Regions from separate parts of the Homo sapiens genome. Here all the other regions are linked to region 1. Evidence: promoter capture Hi-C in human tissues and cell types (Jung and others, 2019). All regions are on one chromosome and are shown on one strand. Each heading gives the region's core, a stretch centred on a gene start or on the middle of the fragment in contact. The rest is flanking DNA. Distances are from core to core; before and after follow the strand shown.

The links. The method cuts DNA at HindIII sites, captures the fragments that hold promoters and counts their contacts. A contact is called where the count stands out against the background at its distance.
Region 2: a contact is called between the fragment with the promoter of CABIN1 here and the fragment with the promoter of ADORA2A in region 1, in 1 of the 25 tissues and cell types used here (mesendoderm cells).
Region 3: a fragment that was not itself captured here is called in contact with the fragment with the promoter of ADORA2A in region 1 in 1 of the 25 tissues and cell types used here (thymus).

Annotation. Positions count from the first base shown.
Region 1 is chr22:24,424,656-24,429,560 of GRCh38, forward strand. It overlaps ADORA2A (adenosine A2a receptor), which reads left to right and starts at 2,944. Exons shown (of 3, transcript NM_000675.6): 1 at 2,944-3,091. The region is part of intron 18 of SPECC1L-ADORA2A (SPECC1L-ADORA2A readthrough (NMD candidate)); the gene reads left to right. It overlaps ADORA2A-AS1 (ADORA2A antisense RNA 1), which reads right to left. Exons shown (of 7, transcript NR_028484.3): 7 at 4,551-4,905. RefSeq lists enhancers at 1-312, 313-963, 4,571-4,730, 4,805-4,905 and a silencer at 3,025-3,134. The HindIII fragment of the contact is 18,723 bases long and covers 1-4,905 here.
Region 2 is chr22:24,009,194-24,014,098 of GRCh38, forward strand. CABIN1 (calcineurin binding protein 1) reads left to right here and starts at 2,111. Exons shown (of 37, transcript NM_012295.4): 1 at 2,111-2,174. The HindIII fragment of the contact is 7,958 bases long and covers 1-4,157 here.
Region 3 is chr22:24,757,334-24,762,238 of GRCh38, forward strand. PIWIL3 (piwi like RNA-mediated gene silencing 3) reads right to left here. Exons shown (of 21, transcript NM_001255975.1): 3 at 2,536-2,656; 4 at 575-706. Among named protein-coding and RNA genes, the nearest start is that of PIWIL3, 15 kb to the right of the region's middle. The HindIII fragment of the contact is 8,851 bases long and covers 1-4,905 here.

The DNA of each region.
Region 1 (4,905 bases), core at 1,694-4,193:
GGCGGGAACTGGGTTTGGGGGACCCAGGAGACGACGGGGGACGGATGGGGGTGGGTGCGCGCCTCGGACTGGCCCCGGCCGTCTGTCTGGCTGCCCGGAGCGGAGGTAGGAATGGCGGGAATGGTGGCGGCTCTCGAGGGATTTGGCGCAAGGCGGCCCAAGGGCTTGAGGAGGAGGCCGCGGGCCGGCAGAGCTGAGGTCCCTGTGTCCCGCACTCAGACTTTAGTTGCCCCGACTGTACCATGGGAGGAAGAGGGAGACCCAGGGCTGGGTCCTAGGCTGGGGGAGTCGGGGCCCTGCAAAGACGCGCAGGTGTTTGTGGCCCTTGTTGGAGGGTGAGCCGCAGGTCAAGCCAGCCCTCCGTCGCCATCCTGAAGCACCTCCTCTCTTGGGCTCTGCCACACACAGGGCCTTCTCCCCTATTGCCAGGTGCTCAGGCCGCCTCCACCCTGCCTCTGCTGCCGGCTCCCCCTGGGTTCCCCGGCGGGGCACCCTGCCGATACTCCATGACGCGCCAGGGCTGCCCCAGGGTGCCCCAGCCCTGGGGACCATGGTGGAGGGTTCTGTGGAGCACCGCGGGCCTGGGAAGCTGTTGCGGGGTCGGGGCTTCCTCACTGGCCCTGCTTTGGCCGTTCCTGGAGGCCTTGGGTGGGGCTGGGAAGGCCGGGCCCTGTGGGCAGCACCCCCCCCCCCCCCGCCCAACATCCCGGCAGATCCATGGCAGGGGCGCCTCACAGGCTGGTCCACGGCCACGGTGTCAGTCCCTCCTTGTTCTGCGCTTGCTTTTTGGGGTCTCCCAGCCTCTCCCTAGTCCTAGAGTTTCTCAGGCAAATCCCAGCCACTACCCCTCCATCCGTGTCCCCTGTTTCCCCAGTGCTGAGCTGGCTGAGCTGTGAGCTTTCCTGCTCCTTGCCTCAGGAAGCCAGGGGCAGCCCAGTCACCTCTGGCCAGAGGCGGGCCTTAGGCCAAGGCTGACCTGGCTGGTCTGAGAGCTGTGCTGGGCTTCTTCCCATATCAGTCTGTGAATTACAGATCCCCAAATATGCCCTGCGTCGCGATGGAGGAGGGCAATCAATGGCAATGACTGCCTCATGGGCAACGCGATGTGCTGGAGATTTCAGTGCTCTCGTCTGGGTTCTGGTCTTGCCTCCTCGACCCACTCGCTGAGCAGGTTGCTGTCCCGGGGAATCTGATATCTCATCTGTAGAACAAGGATGATGATCTTAGCAATGCCTAATGTGGAAAGGCCTTGGCTTGGGAGCAAGTGGGGGAAGGTTTAGGGCAGACCAGAGGGCCGGTGAGGGGTGTGTGCTGGAGCGGGGAACCCGGGAGGGAGGGTGTTAGGCTTGAGGGTCAGGGGACACCACAGGGATTGCTGTTGGCAGAGGGACATATGAATGGTAGTTGGCCTGGGAGCCAGCATGTGACTTGAGAGCATCACGTCCTGCAAAGTCCAGGTGAGGCCTGGGCAGTGCCTGCTGTGTGGGACCACAGCCCCTGGTGGCTCTCAGCTGTGTCCTGACACTCCAAAGAAGGTCTTAGTACCCTCTCACAGACCTAATACCCGAGCCACCTAACCCCAAATGAGCTAGAACTGCCTTCCCAACCGTGTTTGCGGGGTCTGTCTTGTCTATTGCAGCGCAAACAGAGCCCTGAGCACGCAGGAGAGCAGAGGAAGGACAGACAGAAGATGGATGGATGGATGAAGGCGGGAAGCACAGGCTGAGGGGATTTAGGGCATGTGTGGTGGGGGTGCTGTGGAGAGGAGACTGCACAGGCAGGAGCTGAGCTGGTGAATGGGAGGGTTCTAGCTCCCAGAAGGGTCTGGGCCATTGACAGGAGGGGCTTGGTCCTAGGAGGTGGGTGGTCCAGAGGTTGCAAGGAGCAGAGGAGCCCAGATGGGGAAGGGAATGGAGCTGGGGTGCAGAGAGGAGCCCCCACACAACTGCCCACATCCTGTGCAGAACCTGGGGCTCTGGGTGGTGGGAAGAGGCAGTTTCATGGCGGAGGAGGCCTGGGCCCCTGCAGCCTGGACTCCATGGATCTGGCCAGGGACTGGGGAGGATCAGGTGGAGAGAGGAGCAGCAGAGCAGCTGCCCCTCGTCCCAGCACAGGGGATGATGGGAGCCCAGGGAAGGCAGGACCCTGGCTTCGGGCATTTTCTCTGCTAGAATCTCTCGATACCTCTCTCCCTTCACCTTCTCCTCCAAGTCTCACCCAGATGATGTTTCTGTGAGTTGCCATGGGGATTCTCTCACCACCCCCCGCCAACACCCCGCAGGGGAAGCTTGTTCCAGGAGTCACTGGGCAGGGGCTGCTGCTGCTCTTCTGTGCCCACTCCTCGGATGTGCCGCTGCAGCCCTGGTCTCTGGCATCGGCCGTCACCTGGTGGAGAGGCTGCCGGAGCTGGCCAAGCAGAGGGAGGCCGATGGTGCCACTTGGTGTCTCCTCTGGCATCTGGGCAGGAGACTTCTCCCCAGAGGCCCCGGGCTGGTCTGCCCGTGTCACAGGAGGACTCGCCTCTGGTCCCTCAGTGGCCTCTGCAAACCCTGAGCCAGCCTGGGGGAGGCTGCTCAGTGGGGAAGAAGCAGTGGCCAGGCTCTGCTTGGTCACCCTGCCCTCCTGTCAGCCTCCGGGGCTGCCTCGTCGCACCTGCCCAGGGACCCAACAGCCGGTCCTCACCCCTCCCATCCTCATTGCAGCCACCCTGGGGCATTGTGAGGCCCTGCACCCAGCACTGCCCCTTCAAGCCTCCCACAGGGTCCCGCCCAGGACTCCTGGGCTCTGTGTCCGCGGGGCCATCTAGAAACACTCCCTTGTCCCCCCTTCAGCGGCATAGTACCTGTTGCCCGCCATCTGAGGGAGGTGCAGGTGCCAATCCTTCACGTGACGTGACGTGGCTCACCACAGCCTGTGTACATGTGAGCAGCCGCGTGCAGAGGGGAAGCTCTGCCTGGGCCTCAGGGACTGTGACATGGAGCAGGAGCCGCCCCCAGCCAAGCTGCTTTCAGCACAGCGTGGGCCCCCAGCACCTTGGTGCGGGGTGCGGCCCCTCGGAGGAGGGCTGTCAGGTGAAGCCTCGTGTGAGGGGGTGAGTGGCCCCCAGGCGGGGAGGAGGGGGTGCTGTGGCCTTCCTGGCCCCTAGCCTGGACACATGGGGGTGTGGGGAGCAGGAGCTGGGGCCCCCAGCACTGGCCCCGGGGCTGCGATGTGGGGGCTGCTCTGTGAGGCAGGCTCAGAGCCTTAGCCTCCAGCTGCAGGGAGCTGGGTCTTGGCCCCATCTTGCCCACATCCTGCCACCAGGAGCAGAGAGCTGCAGCTGCACCCGGGCTGTGGGGGAGGGATGCCAGGTGTATCTCTGGGTCCCGGGCCCAGCCTGCACCCAGCGCCTGAAGTAAGGGCCACCGGGCAGCCCCGGAGGTCAGGAGGGAAGTGGAGCCCGTGCTGGGTGGCTGCTTACCACTGGGCAGTGAGGAAGGCACCTGCGCTGATGAGTTTGGAAGGGGTATGGGGATCCTGGGGCCCTGGGTTCTGGGAGGTTCATGCCCAGGCCCCCCTGGGCCATCCCAAAAGCCAGTCATAGTGGGGCCCACAACCTGCCGTGCCCTGCCGAGCTCCCGCAAGCCACTTGTTGATGCTTCTCAGTCCACCCCATGCCTCTCAACCGTTTCCTCCTAGACTAGGTCTCTTCATGGCGTTTCTGGGAGAATTCCTCAGTACTAGCTTCAGATCCCCAGTCGTCTCTTCCACTGTACGTGTGCCTGAAGCTCACCACATCCCTTACTTCAGTCCTTCTATTTTTCAGTCCCTGGATTTTGTATTATTTCTTGTTCATATCCACCTGTCCTTGTTTCATTTCCGCCAGTCGGTTCAGAAGTTCTCATTCTTGTCTACGGATGCCATTCCTTTCTTTGCCTCTTTGGAGATTCTAAAGGTCTCTGAAATCATTATTAGATTACTGTATTACCTTCCTTCCTACTGGAATGAATTCACCTCCATGTTTTTTATTCTGTTGCTTACCTTTCTTAGCCTTCATATACCTCTTGCGCTTTGAAATTGATTTGCGACTCCTCTTAGCTGAGCCAATGTTGTGGAGACAGGGAGTGGCCTGCAGTGCCTGAAACTGCAGGGCAGCAGCCGCCTCCCAGGAATGTCCTGGGTCCTTTCCTCCTTTGAGGTCCCCTGCCATATGCTCAGATGGGGCCAGGCACAGCAACGGGGGCACACCTCCCTTTGGCCCAGCAGTTGGGGTGCTGCCAGGCCTGGTGGAGGTACTTGGTAAACATTTGTTATGGAAAAGCAGCAGGAGGGTTCTAAGGCTGGGATTCTGGAGCCCAGGAACAGGCCAGGCATGGCTGGAGCGGGTCCGAGTCCGTGCACTGTGTCCTGTATGTTGCTCTTAGCCGCACTCAGGAGCAGATGTGCAGGTCACTGCCTAGAAGCTGGTGGGCACCTCCGTGCAGCAGGCTCTGGGGGGTATAGCCACCATCTGGGCATGTGTACAGAGGGCCTTGCTAGTGCGACATATGAGGAACCAGAAGATGTGTGGGTTTTGATTAAATGGAGTTTTAATTAAAGTGGCCAGGTTGGGGGAGGTGAGGAGGAAGGCAGGAAGCAGCAGCAGTTTTGAGTCTGACCGCGTGGAATCCTATAAGGTGGTTCTTTCAAGAGGCATTATGCACATTCCGCAGCATGTGTCCCCTGTCTGTATGGGGCAGCATCTGCCCTCTGATCTGTCCCCAACAAGGGGTAATCACAGAGAAGTATTACATTATTAATATTTAATTTCCCCTCCTGGTTAGCAACAGATGACTCAAGGAGTAATTAGATGCACAGAGCCAACAGAGAGGGATAGGAAATTGCCAGATCCTGGCCCCGCCCCCTCCCCGGGGCCTCTGACCTTCC
Region 2 (4,905 bases), core at 861-3,360, 420 kb before region 1:
TAAGGTGGGTCCTTGGTAAAACTCCTTTAAACAGAGGAACAGCCTGAAAAATCAGGCTTCAGGCACAGATAAGGAAACTTGCACAAACCTCTGGCTCACTCAGATAAAGGAACAATGCCCAACACAGAAACACCTTTGATCTTTGTGCCTAAGGCATGCCCACAGCTACTTTGATAAGGGAACAAGACCCAGCATAGAAATGCCTTTGTCCTTTGTATAACCAGTGGGCTTCCAGGAAATAGTCTCTTCTCCTTTTGTGGACATGTACACGGTGGGCTACAGTGGGTTCCAGTGGGCACTTTCCTTTCTTGGACGTGCTTTAGAATGTGAGCCTCTGATTGGTCCTGGGCCAGGCTATCACTTCAGCTCCTGATTGGTCCCTCAAGGTCCAGGGGCCAAGCTGAGTAGTGCTTTCTCCAAGACCAGTCAGTACATTCCTTCCTTTCCCAGTCCATAAAACCCCCTGACCCAGCCTCATAATGGGCAACCTGCTTGGGCCCCCCGCCAGCTGCAATGAGCTTTCTTCATTTGCTTATTAAACTTTTGCTTCAACCTTACCCTTTGTGTCCACACTCCCTAATTTTCTTGGTCGTGAGACAAAGAATTCTGGGTGATACCCCACAATGAGAGACTGGTACATTGTGGTGCACGGGCAAGACTGCAACAATATGTTTTCTGCTTGCTTGTTTGGACTGGCCTCTTCCTAACTCTCCAGAGTGCTCTCTCCCCACTGTGGCCCTGAGCTTTGCCTCACGGTAACACTGTGCTGCATGACACTCCAGCATGATCTGCATGTTTCTCACCTCCGGACCTTCCCCACACAACTTTCTTGCTGCTTGGACCACCCTTCCCACCTATTTTCAACTGTTTCTCTCCAGCGCATCTTTCATGATAAGGCTTGAGTGGAAGCTGTATCCGAGGCTGAAGGTTATCCATGCAGCTTTGAAACCATCTGTTTATGCTTCTGTTTACCCCCCAAATACTGTTTACCCCAATACTCAAAGTCAAGGTTGGTGACTCAACAATTTTCAGAACTTCTAGCTTATCAGTATAGCTTTATTGTACTGAACTGAGTTTTTCACCATGCTGTTACTGTCTTTGAGGTTAAAAAGCCCCCAACATTCACTCCTATTTGAATCATCTGTGCAAGACTCAAGCAGCTATGAATTCAACCACAGTGTAAAGTTCTTCCCTACAATGCTTTATTGTTATTCTAGCTCCCAAGAGAGTACCATCTTTCAGCCCAAGACCCTTGACAGAACCCCTTCAACTCTGTCGCCTTTTTTCATCTCTGGAATTCTGACACCACCCATGACCCCTCTTCTTGTTCATTTACTAGGTTTTGTTCCTTTTTTTCCTTTTGTTTCAATATCCTATTGTATCTGTTCCTTTTGGGCTTCACATCCTTTTTGGAAAGAGAGGCACAGGTAATATAATGAATGAGGATGCTCCTCCTCCCTGGTTCCCTCTAAGTCAAGTTTCTCCAACGCGCTGGTCTGCTTGGCTTTGAATGCGGCTCAACACAAATTCATAAACTTTCTTACAACATTTTGAGATTTTTTGGTGATTTTTATTTTTATTATTTATTTATTTATTAACTTATCAGCTATCCTTAGTGTTAGTGTATTTTATGTGTGGCCCAAAACAATTCTTCCAACGTGGCCCAGGGAAACCAAAAGATTGGACACCCCGCTCTAAGTGTTCCCCAAGTTTCCACTGTTTTCAGAGCACATGTCCCAGGTAATAACACACAGCCCATCATTTAGTGACTGCTCAGGGTGCAAGCTGTGGAGAAGAGAGTCCGACTACGAGCTGGTGCTCTAAGCCTCCAGCACGCTAGGACTGACGACGGGGATCCGGAAACAACAAGCTCCACTCCCGCAACACACACACACACACACACACACACACACACACACACACACACACGCACACGCACACGCGCACGCGCGCACACACGCGCACACACGCGCGCACGCGCGCGCGCGCCGCCCAAGGGTAGCCGTCTGCAGGGCCCCAGCTAAGCAGCCCGCGGAGAGCGAGCGGCGCGTGCGCCCCCGCTGATTGGCTGGCACAACCGGCACCGGAGCCAATGGGAGCACGCCTTGTTGTCAGGCGCGCAGCCGGACGGCGCGGTGGTCGGGACAGACTGGCCGTTGCTGTGGAGACGCCTGGTGAGTTCCTGGAAGGCTGGTTTGAAGGCGGTGCCGGGGTGGGGGTGAGGCTCAGCAGAGCCCGGGGCACAGGCCGGAGGGGCTGCAGGCGCGAGGCTGGGTTACGTGAGGAAGCTGGGGGTTTCGCGGGCAGCTTTAGAGCCCCAGTCAGGGAAACCGAGGCCGGGCTTCCTGGCTGCCTCGCGAGCCTCTTCATGGCTCTCGCCGCCGCCCTGAGGTGCCTAGAATGGGTTCCGGCCTCCGGGGAGGTTCCCAGTAACCGCAGGAGCCACCATTGATTTGGCGTCTGCTGGGTGCAAAGCCCAGCGCGCTAACCCTTTACTCGCGACCTTTCGCTTCACCTTCACAGCAGCCCTGCGAGGTGAGTGTTGTTATTGGTGCCATTTACAGGGGTGGAAACTGAGGCCGCGGGTAGGTGAAATGATTTGCTCCAAGTCACCCAGTGGGTGAGCGCGACTCCAGACTGAAAATTTTGACCGTTCTGCTTCACTGCCTCCCCGCAAGAGGCGGGCCCTGGCCAGATGGAACTCACCTGGCATTCCCAAGGTATCTGCACAAGTGGCTTTGGGAGTCACTTAACTCTTCAGGACCTGGGTTATTACAGGTTATAAGTGTGGGACCGTCGGATTCCATGTGGCTAAGATTCTTTCTATGTGATTATTGTGGTTAGAAATAGAATATGCTTAGAACAGTCTCGTTCAGCGGTCGGCAAACTTTTGTTGTAAATATATCAGTGTTTACATTGTTATATTGTAAGTATAATGAGTATAATAGTATTCATAATAGTAGTTTAGGCTTGGGGGGTCCATACTCTGTCTACTTAACTGTAGCGATGTAGTGTGGATACAGCCAAAGACAATACATAACAGACTAGCTGCGTCGCAATAAAATTTTAATTATAGGGACCGAAGTTTTAATTTTATATATTGTTAATATAATTTTCACGTGTCATGATTTTTTTTCCCAAATATGAAAAAATGTAAAAACCATTCTTTGCTCGTGGGCTGTACAAAAAGGGTGGGCTGGTTAGCTTGCAGAACCCTCATCTAGTACAAAGCCTCATACATGAGGGGAAACAGACTGAGAGACTGACATCTATGTCAAGTCAGTCACACAGCCAGGGCACTGCCACCACTGAGCTTAAGACATAGGCTTCCCACCTTCCAGGCCAGGAAACATCCCCAGTTATCACTCTGGATCAGGGTGCTGAGGTCTGAAGGTGTGCTACTCTTTATCGTGTTCTGAGGCCATGGAAACTATATTCTAAGGGGTTTGGAAACTTATTAGCTTAGACTAATAAGCCTGGTGAATGTGCTGCTATCTGAGGAAATGCAGCTGCTGGGCTGGGAGTCAGAAATGAATAGATATTTTTCTTTTTCATGATTATTCAATAGCTTTTGTGTGTGTGTGTGTGACGGAGCCTTGGTCTGTCGCCCAGGCTGGAGTGCAGTGGCATGATCTCGGCTCACTGCAATCTCCGCCTCCCGGGTTCAAGCAGTTCTCCTGTCTCGGCCTCCCGAGTAGCTGGGACTACAGACACCCGCCACCATGCTTGGCTAATTTTTGTATTTTTAGTAGAGACGGGGTTTCACCGTATTGGTCAGGCTGCTCTCAAACTCCTGACCTCAGGTGATCCACCCGCCTCGGCCTCTGAAAGTGTTGGGATTACAGGCGTCAGACACCGCGCCCGGCCTCAATAGCTTTTTTTTTTTTAAAAGCTCCTTTTAGTGAGTTTCTTGGATTTATGGTGAACAATACATAAATGGTTACCATCCTCACATTGCTTACAGATGATAAATATATAATCAAAATGGTTATTTCTTTTTAAGCTTTTTTTTTTTTTTTTTTGAGATGGAGTCTCGCCTGTGGCCCAGGCTGGAGTGCAGTGGTGCGATCTCGCCTCACTGCAAGCTCCGCCGCCTGGGTTCACGCCATTCTCCTGCCTCAGCCTCCCTAGTAGCTGGGACTACAGGCGCCTCTCACCATACCCTGCTAGTTTTTTGTATTTTTTAGTAGAGACGGAGTTTCACCGTGTTAGCCAGGATGGTCTTGATCTCCTGACCTCATGATCCGCCCGCCTCGGCCTCCAAAAGTGCTGGGATTATAGGCGTGAGCCACCATGCCCGGCCTCTTTTTAAGCTTTTTAAACTAATTTTAGATTTAGAGAAAAATTGCAACAATACAAAACGCTCTGTTATGTCCTTCACCCTGCTTTCCCTAATGTTAACATCTTACATAATCATACAATTATCAAGAACAGAAATCTAGTGTTGGTACAGTATTATTAACTACATTACAGATGTGATATGAATGTTACCATTTTTTAAATTAAGGTTGTGTTTTCATTCCAGGACCCTATCCAAGATCCCATGTTGCATTTAGTTATTTCTCCTTGGTCCATAACACTTCCTTAGTCTTTTCTTGTTTTCCTTGGCTTTGATGCTTTTAAAGAGTAGTGATCAGTTATTTTGTCTAACGTCTCTCAATTTAAAGGTTTGTCCAGTGTTTTCTAATGATTGGGGTGAGATTATGCATTGTTGGCCAGAACACAAAGACACATTATCTTTGTGTCTTTCTCAGTGCATCACATGGAGTCCAAGATATTGGAATGTCTTATTACTGGTGATATTTACCTTGATCTATTGGTTTACTTGGTGTCTACCAGGTTTCTACACCATAAAATTACTATCCCTTTCTAATTAATAAGTCTCTTGGGAGAGATACATTGAGA
Region 3 (4,905 bases), core at 708-3,207, 330 kb after region 1:
GGGCACAGTGGCTCACACCTATAATCCCAGCCCTTTGGGAGGCCCAGGTGGGAGGATGGTTTGGGCCAGGAGTTCCAGACCAGCTTGGGCAAGGTGGGAGGCACCTCTACTTACAGTGATGACAGAAGCTTTCCAGAATCTATTAAAGTTTTTATCGAAAGTTTAAAATGGGCCAGGTGTGGTAGCTCATTCCTGTAATCTCAGCAGTTTGGAAGGCCCAGGTGTAAGGATGGCTTGGGCCAGTTCTAGACCAGCAAGACCGTGTCTCTACAAAATTTACATACACACACACACACACACACACATATATAAAATATGTATATATTACACACACACACACACACACACACACACACACACACACACATTCGGGCATGGTGGTGCCCACCTGTAGTCCCAGCTACTTGAGCTGGGATCAGCTCAGGATCAGCTGAGCCCAGGAGTTTGAGGCTAAAGTGAGCATCACTGTACTCCAGCCTGGGCGACAGAGCAGGACCTTGTCTCTCAATGAAAAAAAAAAAAAAAAAGTTAAAAACGAACAGCTCCATAAACATTGAGTTCTAGACCAACATACCTGTTTTTGAGTCTTTAACATGCTTCATATCTTGCCTGGTGTTCACCACCAGGTCTTGAAAAACTCCACCAATCCTTCTCTCCTGCAAGGGCGCTGTATGCAACCCAGCCTCAGGTCCAGGTTCCTTCACCCCTGCATAAATGTAAACGCCAGAAGTTTAAACAATAAAAAGGGAAGAATAGAAAAGACAGCATTAACACCCAGCATAAGTTTGTTAGAGGTAGAAAAGATGCCACCCAAGGTTCCAAAACACATTTCCGTGATATGTTGCCGCAAAAGCGTAACCTTACCCAGAAACCTTTCCCAAGGAGTCCCCAGTTCACATCCGTGGTTGCCTTGGCACTTTATTCATTCCTGCTACATATGTGCCCCATTTCTTTGGGTATTTGTTCATGGTACAAGATTCTAGAAACTTTGGTTCTGTCTTTAAGCCTATCTCCTGGCGCTATGCTGCCCCCTAGTGGGCATCATAAAATGCCAAATAAGCCAATCATTTAAAAAATCTATAAAACTGGCTTTTAATACAAAACTGATCTATCCTTTCTATTAAGAGCAACTAGGAAAGGATCACACTCACTATTTCAACTTACATTCTAAGGTTCATATCGATGTAGCTATTCTACAAAGTTAACATTTAAATGACAGCACAATGCGGTCTTTCAGTGACGAGAGGCATCCTGAAGGAATACGCACACGTTATTGTAAATCCCGTACACCTAAATGGCCAAGACGTCTGTGCCTTGGGTTACAATAATGGTTTGCCTCAAAATTTTACTTCTGGAGTCTAGTTTTTAGTTTATGATGATCTTACAAAGTAAGTGTCTCCATTTCTGTGACAGACTAACTACATTTTACACATAAAATTTGAAACAATTTTATCAAACTCCCAACTAGTTCCTGACACATCCAGCAATCAAATTCATCATATTAAAATGTCAGCAAAAGAAAACAGGTATCCTAGCTTGGCACCTTGGCACTCGCTACAAACCACATACTTTTATCTTTTCAGACGGAGTCTAACTGTCACCCAGGCTGCAGTGCAGTGGCACTGTCTCAGCTCACTGGAACCTCTGCCTCCTGGGTTCAAGTGATTCTCCTGCCTCAGCCTCCCTAGTAGCTGGGACTACAGGCGCATACCACCATGCCCAGCTAATTTGTATATTTTTGGTAAAGATGGGATTTTGCCATGTTGGCCAATCTGGTCTTGAACTTCTGGCCTCAAGTGATCCACCCACCCGGGCCTCCCAAAGTGCTGATGTGAGCCACTGCACCCAGTCCATGTAATTTACACATACTATTTAATAACAACCCTTCAGATAGGATCTGATTATTAAAAATGTGTTTTAATTTATTCAAATGTATAAGCTCATTTTATAGGTTCTGGATTTTGTAACCATTTGTTAATATTTATCTATAATACAATTCTTTTTTAGTGTTTCAAGTTTTGACTCATCACAAGCTATTTTGCTATAGAAAGCAAAGAGGAGAATCCAGACTGAAGTTGGATCACATTAGCCGAAACCTTAGCAAATGACAATATCTGAGCCTGTGTGCATGAGTGCTGTATAAACGAGGATAACCTGTCAGCCTGCAATGTAGGTAACAGGTTCAACCTGTTAATGCCACAATTTAAAGAGGAAAGAAAATGGTGTTCTTAGAATTCCATTAAGTTAACTTAGAGTTATCATCTGCAGATGTGTCATCTAAATTTGAAAAGCAATTATGTTGAACTGGCCAATAAACAGTGACCTCCATCTCCCTTCCACAAGTTAAGACACAAGGTGAAGAAAACACCATCAGATAATTCACTGCACAAAGAGAGACAGTTGCAAGCTGCACACACTTCCCATCCCACCAAACCTCACGGGAGTCCTGAGGCTATCTAGAACCTTCTACCGCTGTGGTAGCCCTTCACACATGAAGCATCCCCTGCCCCTCATGTCCTTCTTGCTTCCTTTCACCTTGAGACTGTGCTCCTCCTCCTGCTCCTCCTCTTGCTGCTCTTGGCTGCAGAGGTCTAACCACTGGGACTTCCTCCTGCAGCGGCCGGGGTGTCGACTGCAACTGAGGGGGCTCCTGGGTCTGCATGTTTTTGGAAATAGAAATAATGAGCAGTGCCCTACTGTGTTCATTCTCCCTCCAAATGGCACTCGCAGGGCACAAGGCAAAGGAACTTCCTCTGAAAAGCTCACATTCCAGTGACATAAACTAAGTTGTAATAAGCAACATACATAGCACCTTGTGTGGTAATTGCTAAGGAAAAAAACAAAAAAAGGACAAAACAAACCGAGGAGAATCAGGAATTACTGGGAAGGTAGGGTGTGAAGGGGCAGGTTTCACTAGCTGATGGGGGCAAAAGCGGGCCTCAGTGAGAAAGTGACACAGAACCCAAGACTTGGAGGTACTGAGTGAATTAGCAAAGTTACCCAAGCCAGCAGTGGAAGAAAAAGAGCAGAGTTCTGCAGTTGGGAACGTTCAAGGAAGAATGAGGCAGCCAGTGTGGCTGGAAGAAGAGGGTGAGAGATGTCAGTGAGATGAAGGGAAGGAGGTCATTTTAAGGAAATTGCTTCTGACTGATAAAATGAGAGCTGTGACAGAGGCCAGGTGCAGTGGCTCACGCCTGTAATCCCAGCACTTTGGGAGGCCGAGGCAGCCAGATCACCTGAGATCGGGAGTTCAAGACCAACATGGAGAAACCCCCGTCTCTACTAAAAATACAAAACTTAGCTGGGCATGGTGGCACATGCCTGTAATCCCAGCTACTCAGGAGGCTAAGGCAGGAGAATCGCTTGAACCCAGGAGGCAGAGGTTGCAGTGAGCCAAGATCACGCCATTGCACTCCAGCCTGGGCAACAAGAGCGAAACTCTGTCTCAAAAAAAAAAAAAAAAAAAAAAAGCTGTGACAGGATACCAGGCAGAGGAACGACATGAACTAATTTGTCAGGTTCCATGTTGGGAACAGGCTGAGAGACAAGGAAATAGCAAGGGATGTGAGCTGTTTGGGCCAGAGGCCAGGATAGGGGTGGTGAGAAATTGTCTGATACTGGATAGTTTTTGAGAAAACAATCCCGTGGTTGTTTTTGAGAAGGGCTTGAGGTCATGGAGATAGGATGAAAGCACAGACTTTTGGCCTGAGCAAATGGAAGAATGGAAGTCCTTCTGATGAGGTGGGTATGGCATGCTGGGGAGGGCAGGTTGGGAGTGTGAGTTGTCCACGGACACCCGTGGGGGTGTTAGGTGGTGCAGGAGAGGTTCTGGCCAACGAGATAAATATGGGGACCTGTCCACACACCAGAAAGCATTTTGACACTGGATAACTTCACCAAGGGAGTGAGAATATGGAGAAAAAAGATGAGGCTCAAGGGCTGGGTCTTGGCAATATCAAGAGGCCATAGAGGAGAACTCCACAAAGGAGAGCAAGTGGGGGTGGTCAGTGATGAAGGAGGTAACCTAAACGCCAAGCGGAGGGAGTTGACAGGAGAAAAGAGGTCTCAACTGTGCCAACTAAAAGTGAAGAGGCAAGTCTGAGGAGAGCTGCCCTGTGAATCTGGCAGAGTGGAAGGGCCCAGGGAAGGTTTCTTGATGAATGGGAGTGAACTCAGTGAGTCTGTAGACAGACGGGAATGATTTAGGAGAACACACACCTGCTGACTTGGGAGACAGAAAGGCAAGCTGCAGGAGACATGCCCTAGACAGAGGACTGGCTAAGGGGCTAAGTAGAGATATTTGCTTTAGGTAGGAACAAAGATGGTGCCCTAGGATCTCCAGTGAGGGGCTGGACTATGGGTTCAGATGCTCATGAGTGAGGGGACAAGAGAGGGAGCCACTGACACTCTCATTGGATGCTTTGTCTGTCTCGGTGGCACAGAAGTCTATGTTGAAAACCGAGAATTAGGACCAGGAGGAGGAATTGAGGTTGGAGGGCTTAGGAGAAGGAGAGGAGCAACAGTCAAACAGCAGAATAAGTGGACCTGGAAGGCATCGTGCTACTTCCATGCAGTATATGGTCCCCCTGGAGGTTGTCAGATGGGGCCCCGCAGCGCCACTATGGATCCTGCTGTGTGAATGTAAAGTGGATATGCAGTAAGAGAAGACAAAACAGGGCAGGCATAACAAGTTTTCAACAAGGCTGGAAACTCTTATCTAACTCAGGCTATGCCAGTACCTTCAGGAAGTTGCTCATTTTGGGTCACTTCCAAAGAGGAGTCATTGGCTGAAGCCAAGAAATCTAGAAACCTTTGCATCCACTTTGGGCTGAAAGTCAGTCTGCTTGCACATGTGAAAATGTGAGAAGGAAGCAGTGGAGAGTACATCTGAGTAGATAAAGCCTC